3 separate regions of the Homo sapiens genome follow, and all the other regions are linked to region 2. Evidence: promoter capture Hi-C in 16 types of primary human blood cells and fetal thymus (Javierre and others, 2016). All regions are on one chromosome and are shown on one strand. The core of a region is centred on a gene start or on the middle of the fragment in contact, and the rest is flanking DNA. Distances in the headings are between cores, read along the strand shown. Region 1 has its middle 230 kb from the start of NHLRC3. Region 2 holds the start of COG6 (component of oligomeric golgi complex 6). Region 3 has its middle 110 kb from the start of NHLRC3.

Region 1 (2,749 bases), core at 42-2,541, 390 kb before region 2:
ATGGAACAGACTCTCCCTCAGTGCCTCCAGGAGGAAGCAATCAAGTCGGTATCTTGACTTCAGACCTCTAGCCTCTAGAACTATGAGACAATAAATTTGTGTTGTTTCAAGCCACCTAGTTTGTGGTACTTTGCTATGACACCTCTAGGAAACTAATATACCTCATGTCTATTGTCCTTAATTCTAGCTGTTCTACCTTTGAACTATTCAGCTTAATTCAGACAGAAAAATCTTTCCTAAAAGTTATTCACATGATGTCCCTTCTTTGTTCAAAATGACAAATGATACACCATTTCCTCCAATTATTACTAAATGCTTGTTTGCCTTATTTTCAAGATCTCGAACAGTTATATATTTTTCCATGCTTTCCTCTTTTGAACCAAGCTAACTTTTTACTGTCCCCAAACACTCCACATTCTCTTCTGCTTTCACGGTTTGCTCCCTTCATGCAGTCTCTCTACCATCCTTCTGTTGAAATCACATGCTTTCTTTAAGGTCAACATTAAAATTAAAATCAATCTTTTCATTTATCATGCCAACACTTCTTATCTCTTTGCTTTGAATTCAAAGAAACGCTATCATCTATACCACAAAATTTGGCTTGTTATTAAATATTGTAATTACAAGGGTTTTATCTGTGTTTGTCTTGATGACTACTCTTTAAGGTGAACACCATTTTATACTTCTGAGCATCTTTCATTCCTAGCACAGTAATAAGATATGCAAGAAAGAGTTTCTAATTAATGTGTGCCCACCACATGCATACTAAATATTGTTCCCACCCCCACATACATAATAAATATTGCATTTAATCATACATGCATAAGTCCTGGCTAAAGACAACTCTGTTATGACCTACTTCATTAGTAATGCCTTTGTCCTAAATTTTTTGCTACTTTAGAAAAACTCAGAGGAAAAGAAGCTTCATTTAGTCAAAATTCAAAACAAGATCTCAGGTGTGGGGATGATCCAGCAGGTCATTTTGAAAGTGCTCTGGTTTGAGGTAACATAGTGTTTCTTTCACAAACATAATAATCCATTATAGTCAGAGAGCACGATATGGAAACAGAATTTCTCTTCTGTCATTCATGGGAGTCGAGAGCTACCTTGTAGGAGATGTGAACTATCTGCTCCTATGTCTGTCCCTAGTTTATGCCTTTGACAATAGTTATTCAGTATCTGGAAAAGTGATTATCTAGATTTTGCCTCTCCCCATTGACAGTCTAATCACTGGCAGTTTCAAATGAAACTCAGCACCTGTGCTCACGTTAACCACTACTGCAGCCTCCTTCCTGATGGATCTGTAGTGTTCTCTCCTTTGCTCACTCAGCTCTGACCACAGGGCCAACCTGCTGCTCCTCAAACTTGCCCACGAGCACATGCAGTTCTCTGACTGCAATGTTCGTTCTCCACATATCCTTAGTCTCCTTACTTCATTCAAGTCTCTCCTTCAATGTCACCCCCTCTGTGTTAAAATACAGTGTATTAATAGAAATGTGGAGGTATTGTAAGGGCAATAGACCAGGAGGTAAATTCCACTGAAAGGACAGTTTGTTACTCACAGTTGCCAAGAACAGGGGCATGACCCACCATGGTGGACCCAGCGGGGAAACACTAGGGCCAATCAGGAGGCAGAAGGTTGTGGGGACAGCTGTGGGTAAAAGCTTCTATTACAGTGTCCAGGGGAAGGGAAGCAAGTTTAGGATGGACTAGTTTGAATAATTTCAGTGGGGTTGTCCCTAGTTATCTGGTGTCTGGCCCTGAGGTGATGAGAGCAGATGGATAGTGGACTAGAATATGACAAACGATAAAGGAGGGGGTTAGGGTCTGGGATCTGGATTCCTTGGTTTGGATTTGGAAAGCACATCCATGAGTTGTTTACTATCTCTAAGACTTGGCTATCCCTGAGAGAGGCAGTCCCTCCAGGATCAGCCAGGCCCCAGGGATGAAAGCATCAGAATACAGAAAATAAAGGATGCAGTTAAGGCAACCCTCAAAGAGGCATTCCCTTATACCTTAAGGAAGCATCTCACTCCCCACCACCAGTCTCCATCCTCTGCTCTTTTATTCGACTTTATGGCACTTCATGGAATGTATCTGATAAATATTTTTCACGTCTTTCTTCAGTAGAATAACTTCATCAGAACTTACATTTCAATGCAAGTCAAAACCACACCAGTAAGAATGGCTATTATTAAAAAGTCAAAAAACAACAGATGGTGGTGAGTTTATTGAGAAAAGGGAATGCTTGTACACTGTTGGTGGGAGTGGAAATTAGTTTGGTCATTGTGGAAAGCAGTTTAGAGATTTCTCACAGAACTAAAAACAGAACTACTTATTCAACTCAGCAATCCCATTACTGGGCATACACCCAAATAAAATAAATCATTCTACAAAAAGACACATGCACTCATATGTTCATCACAGCACTATTCACAATAGCAAAGACATGGAATCAATCTAAGTGCCTATCAATGACAGACTGAATAAAGGAAATGTAAGTACATATACACCATGGAATACTATACAGTCATAATGAAGAGCAAAGTCATATCCTTTGCAGCAACATGGATGCAGCTGGAGGTGGTCATCCTAAGTGAATTAATGCAGGAACAGAAAACCAAACACCACGTGTTCTCACTTGTAAGTAGGAGCTAAACATTGGGTACTCATGGACATAAAGATGGGAACAGTAGATACTGGGTACTACTAGAGTGGGGAGAGGGACAGGGAACAAGAGCTGAAAAAC
Region 2 (2,893 bases), core at 61-2,560:
CCTGACTTGGCATGTTATCATCGTCATTCCTTTTAATTGTACATATTTGCAAGCTCTACATTATATTATTGCTTTGTATATATGCAAATTCATTTGGATATATACACCTTAGGTAAACCTTTGATATTTTAATTTTGGTTACACTGAACTTAAATTTATCTGTGAAAGAGAAAAGACATCTTACAATATTGAGTCTTCCTGTTGAAGAGAACAATATATTTTTTCATTGATTTAAGTTTTATGTTCTCCCAGTAGCATTTTAAAGTTTTCTTCATCTAGGTTCTCTGTATTTTTTGTTGAATTCATACCTAGATATTGCTGCTTTTTGTATATTTTTTTCTTTTGGATAGTTGGGCCTTCTCTTCTTCATTAGAGTAGAGATGAGTGGTTTTGTCAGTGCTTTCTTTATGTGACCTCTGTAATAGGTAATTTTCCCTTAAGTCTGATATACAATATAACTATGTACATAGACATATATGAAACAAGGAAAATTTATGACAAGAGCCAAATAGTGTTTCTGACAAATAATTCACAGAAGCCCAGCGATTTTATTTTGATCCAAATTTTAAAAACTGAGAAAAGAAAGAAAAAAAGCAATGATGTTTGTTTTCCAGAGTTTCCCGGGAAGTTTTTTCAACTTGTTACATTTTTATCCATTACTTTACAGCTACATGGGCTCTGGTCCATTTGTGTCAGGGCCAAGTTCATCTTGTTTTGAGGCCTGTACACTTACACACTTTCTTCTGCCTGGGAATGATTTCTCCTCACATTCTGATTCTCCTTCAAATCTCAGTTTAAGTGTCAACTCCTCTCCAAACCTCCCTGAGTGAAGTGGGCCTTTCCCTCCATTTTCTTTCACTGTACTACTTCATCCCCTGAGCACTCATCACAACCTAATAACATCTATTAACAGCTTTGTCTGTTTCAGACACACAATGTAGATTCTCCAATGCCTACCAGAGTACCTGGCACATACTATGCCTTCAATAAATAATTTTCAAAAAAATGAATTCAGATAAGGCAAATGTAATTTAAACTTTCAGTTAACTTATATTGAATGTATATGCCAGGCACAAGTCATGGTGTATTTTACATACTACATTTGGTTGTCATCTAATTAGCTCTGAAGGTCGCAGATCCATAATTCCAAAGTCCTCTCTAATCCTATAAATTTTCTCCTTCTACCTGAGGGTCTTGTCCCGCCCCCCACATCTTCTCCGCCCCTCACGCTTCTGAGAGCCCAAGCAGGGTTACCCGGCGAAGACTTCCGGGGCCGATGCGCATGCGCGGCCGATTTGCACATGCGCAATACTCGCGCTGCCTCCGTGGTCCCTGCCTGGCTGAGGTGGCAGCAGGGGGCGGGACGCGCAGCGCTATGGCAGAGGGCAGCGGGGAAGTGGTCGCAGTGTCTGCGACCGGGGCTGCCAACGGCCTCAACAATGGGGCAGGCGGGACCTCGGCGACGACCTGCAACCCGCTGTCGCGCAAGCTGCATAAGATCCTGGAGACGCGGCTGGACAACGACAAGGTAACCGGGGCTGGCGGGGCCGGAGTCACAGGTTCCTGCGGGGCTGAGCCGGGCCAGGGGCGGCGTCTGTCAGGGACCCACCGCGGTCTCCCTCGTCCCGGCAGCAGAGGGACCGCGAGTGACCCCAGACCTGCGGGCTCCGCTGCTCTGCGGGCGCCGGGGGCGGTGAGAAGGGGGAGCCCCAGCAACCTCCGGAAAAGCGAAGGGGTTTCCTGGGTGTTCTCTCCACCTGAAAAGGTGCCTTCAAGGCTCTCTGGATGGGATTGGTGAACGGTGGTGCCTCGAGAAGTGTCCTCCAAACACCCCTGGAGGCGTTTGGCTGTGTGAGCTGGGAGAGTGGAGGAGAGCACAAGACTGGATATGAAACAGATGCAAAAGAGCAGATTCCAAGATAAGGTAGCGCAAATGGGGGTCGGGAGACCAAGAGAGCAGTGGTAGGGATAAGGGTGCATTTCCACGGACAAGTGACAACAATTGCAATAATTTGCAGCGCGAAAGAACTACCTTTGCCCGTGGCTGAAATGAACTCATATCTACTAGTTTTTGTTGAGCCAAGCGCTATGATTTGTGGGCTCAGGCTGTATTTCTTTAGAAGATAAACTGACAGCATGCTCTCACAAGTACCTCCTGAAACTTAAGTTGGACTTTACAGCTCCTCACATACCCAGCCATCTCTTCTGTCTCTGTGGGTCGCTAGGTAAATTGGTCATGACAGTGTAACATAAAGAAGAACATATGTCAAAGTTAGAGAGTTTTATAGGTGAATATGTAGGTAACTGAAAATAAGCTGTCGATAACAATTTGATTCCGATATGTAAAAAAATAACATTGCAATGTAATGAATAAGAAATTAGGGCTCTGGAGACTACCACTTATTAGATAGAACCACTAAATGTGTGCATCATGATTTGAGTAAGTCCCTTCACTAATCTCAGCTTCTGTTTAGGAATTAGGAATCCTGCTGTTAAGTTTCTCATGGTTGTTATTTGAGGACTCAGTGAGAGACTCCAGGTAAAGTCCTTTGCAAAGAGCCTGGCACTTACTCTTTCTTAACAAATATTAATTTTATCATAAAATTTATGAAGTGTTTAATGTGTCTCATATTGATATTTATTATATCATTTAAGACTGCTACTTGCTCTGATATAGATAACATGGCCTTCTTTTTTGGACAGAGTTTTGCTCTTTTTGCCCAAGCTGGAGTGCAATGGGCGCAGTCTCGGCTCACTGCAACCTCTGCCTCCCGGGTTCAAGCGATTCTCCTGCCTCAGCCTCCCAAGTAGCTGGGATTACAGGCATGTGCCACCACGCCTGGCTAATTTTGTATTTTTATTAGAGACGGGGTTTCTCCATGTTGGTCAGGCT
Region 3 (2,933 bases), core at 96-2,595, 500 kb before region 2:
ATCAGTATCAGCTGACCAGGAAAGGGAGGTATTGACAATAATACAGAAGACTAAGCACATGTTGTTGCAGGTATGTATTCTAGCACAACTGTCACAATCAGTAAAATACATCTAATGACTAGGATGTAAAAGGGAAAGGTGGGGGGGAATCTCCTTTTTTTTTTTTTTTTTTTTTGAGACGGAGTTTCACTCTTGTTGCCCAGGCTGGAGTGCAATGGTGGGATCTTAGCTCACTGCAACCTCTGCCTCCCAGGTTGAAGCAATTCTCCTGCCTCAGCCTCCTGTGTAGCTGGGATCACAGGCGCCTGCCACCATGCCTGGCTAACTTTTTGTATTTTTAGTAGAGATGGGGTTTTACCATGTTGGTCAGGCTGATCTCGAACTCCTGACCTCAGGTGATCCGCCTGCCTCGGCCTCCCAAAGTGCTGGGATTACAGTCGTGAGCCACCGCGCCCGATGGGATATCCTTTTTAAGTGCACAAACTGGAAGTCACACATATCACTTCTAAGCACATTGCACTGACCAGAACTTAGTCACATCTCCACTGCAAGGGAGCCTGTGAGTCATAGGCTTTGGCTGGGCAGCCACATACCCAAGAGCTCTTTGTTATATTGTGTTGCCTATTAAAAAGTAAAATTTTTAAAGGAAAAAATATGTCTATAAGCAACTTGGGTTTTAGAATCTCCATCCTGGCTTTTGAGAGTTTGGGATCTTTTATCTCTCCAGCTTAGTCAGACTCTCTAGTTCGTGTAATAGGACACTCCTATTCTGATCTGGTTCCCTGAAAGCTGCATGTGATGTGTCTTAATATTATATTGCACCACCTGCTATCTGCTTGGCTTATGATCATGCTTTGATCTATACTTGGATTTACTCTACTTGGAGAAAGGTATACTCTTTATAGGACTGGCATGGTAGAAATTGTGATGATTTCTACAGGCTCTGCCTGTAGCCAATGAGGAAGCAGAAGATGAATCCAAATGGAACCTTATTTAGCCAACACACACAGGCACTTGTGTGCCAAATGTGGTTTATAGGATACATTTTGGGAAAATTTACTGAGTTCCCCATTCATGAAACCATCATTAAATATTATATCATAGTTAGGTCTTCTATGCTTTCTTTCATCTTTGAGAAGGATATACTAGAAATTATCAATTTCTCTTTAAAGTCTTACATACCTATACTACAGTTCACCTGCATTTAAGCTTAGACTGGACATATTAGGGAGATGAGAAGAGCAAGAGAAACTGAAGAGCTTGGCTACTTAGTTGGTGACCTTGTTATTTTCCAAGAATGATTTAGTTGCACAAAATCTATGGTGTACTTCTAACAAAAGTCTACAAGATCTTACATTATAAATCTTGTATACTAGTTGTACTAGACACTAACCATTCTTTTTGGTGGACAACATCTGAGCCTGATTATAGTTTAGGAATTCTTTACCTGTTTTCTGATTAGAGATAGTGAGCCAGAGGTAGCAAGCTTTAAAGACATATTTGTAAGACGTTTGCATATCAAACCTGTAGGAAACAAACCTGAAAAAAACATTCAGGGGCTTGCCATCTTAGTGAAAGGTGTACATCTAAATACTCCTTCTAATGTAAAGGATAATTTGTTGCATCTGAATCTCAAAGATATCAGGCCCTGTGAATGCTACCTTTTGGGGCATATTTTTGCAAACATAACTAAATTAAGGATCTTAAGATGAGGTGGTTAGCCTGAATTATTAAGGTGAGTTCTATCTGCCATCACATGCTATTACAGAAAGGCAGAGGGAGATTTGACAAATACACATGGAAAGTGCAATATAAAGATGGAGGTGGAGACTGGAGTGATGTGGCTACAAGCTAAGGAATGCCTGCAGCCACCCGGGCTAGAAGAGGCAAGAAACTAGAAAGTGGGGAGTGTGGCCCTGCCGACACCGTGACTTGGTCTTTTGGGCTCCAGAACTATGCGAGAATAAATTTCTGTTGCTTTAAGCCACCAAGTTTGTGGTAATTTTTTACAGCAACCACAGGAAACAAATGGAGATTTTACTGTAGTGGTCATTGAAATATCAGATACCAGTAGCTCACTTTCCCAGTCTCCCTTGCAGTGAGGGCATAAGCACGTGCTGGTCAGATGCACCCTGGAATTTGAGTCAGGTATTTCTCATACAAAACTCTGGGGCTGTAGAAAATCCTCTCTATAGCAGCAATGTTGATTACAATAAGGTAGATCTTCTGGAACAGCAGTGCCAGATCAGTGCTGCAGGAGAACTTCTGGCTGCACAGCCTTCATCTAAGCCTGGTTCACATGACCACCCAGTAATTCTGTAGGCTACTAATGTCCTTTCGATATGTCACTTCTCTGTTTATACTGAATTAACTTAGTTTCTATTATTTAACTAAAACCCAACTAATACATTAATGGCCTCGCCATTACTGTGGTTAATTTCCGAAAACTTTGCCTGTTTCCCCTACCTCTCACTTTCTCGAAATATAGATGTAGGCATAGATGTAAATATATAGGCATAGATATAGGTATACACACACATACAAATTTGATTCTCCCTCCTTTGAAAAGGAGATCTGAAAGGCATACCAAATATGTTTTTGTGAGTAAATGCATTCAAGTCTCCCTGCATCCCCCTTCACACCCATCTTTGCCTTCCTCTCTGTTTTTATTTTTACTTTTTCTGGGAAGCCTTCATGCACTTCATGCTGCCTTCGCATCCTACTGGTAGCATATTGCAGTACTTATCACACAGTATCTGTTCAATAGATGGTTGATTATATTAAGCAATATTCTGAATAGTAAAATTGATTAACTCAAGCCTTGCTGACAGCTGCTTTAAATCATATCATGAACTAAAGTGATTCGATTTACCTCAAAACCACCTCAGTTTGGGGTGTATTTGTTGCATCTGTTAAATTAATCATGAAAGGCT

What was found. The method cuts DNA at HindIII sites, captures the fragments that hold promoters and counts their contacts. A CHiCAGO score of 5 or more calls a contact.
Region 1: a contact is called between a fragment that was not itself captured here and the fragment with the promoter of COG6 in region 2, in 1 of 17 cell types (M2 macrophages). The highest score is 5.7, in M2 macrophages.
Region 3: a contact is called between a fragment that was not itself captured here and the fragment with the promoter of COG6 in region 2, in 1 of 17 cell types (endothelial precursors). The highest score is 5.3, in endothelial precursors.

Annotation. Positions count from the first base shown.
Region 1 is chr13:39,267,297-39,270,045 of GRCh38, forward strand. No RefSeq gene overlaps it. Among named protein-coding and RNA genes, the nearest start is that of NHLRC3, 230 kb to the left of the region's middle. The HindIII fragment of the contact is 742 bases long and covers 921-1,662 here.
Region 2 is chr13:39,654,352-39,657,244 of GRCh38, forward strand. COG6 (component of oligomeric golgi complex 6) reads left to right here and starts at 1,311. Exons shown (of 19, transcript NM_020751.3): 1 at 1,311-1,528. The coding sequence starts at 1,376. RefSeq lists a silencer at 1,575-1,624. The HindIII fragment of the contact is 8,496 bases long and covers 1-2,893 here.
Region 3 is chr13:39,151,139-39,154,071 of GRCh38, forward strand. No RefSeq gene overlaps it. Among named protein-coding and RNA genes, the nearest start is that of NHLRC3, 110 kb to the left of the region's middle. The HindIII fragment of the contact is 277 bases long and covers 1,208-1,484 here.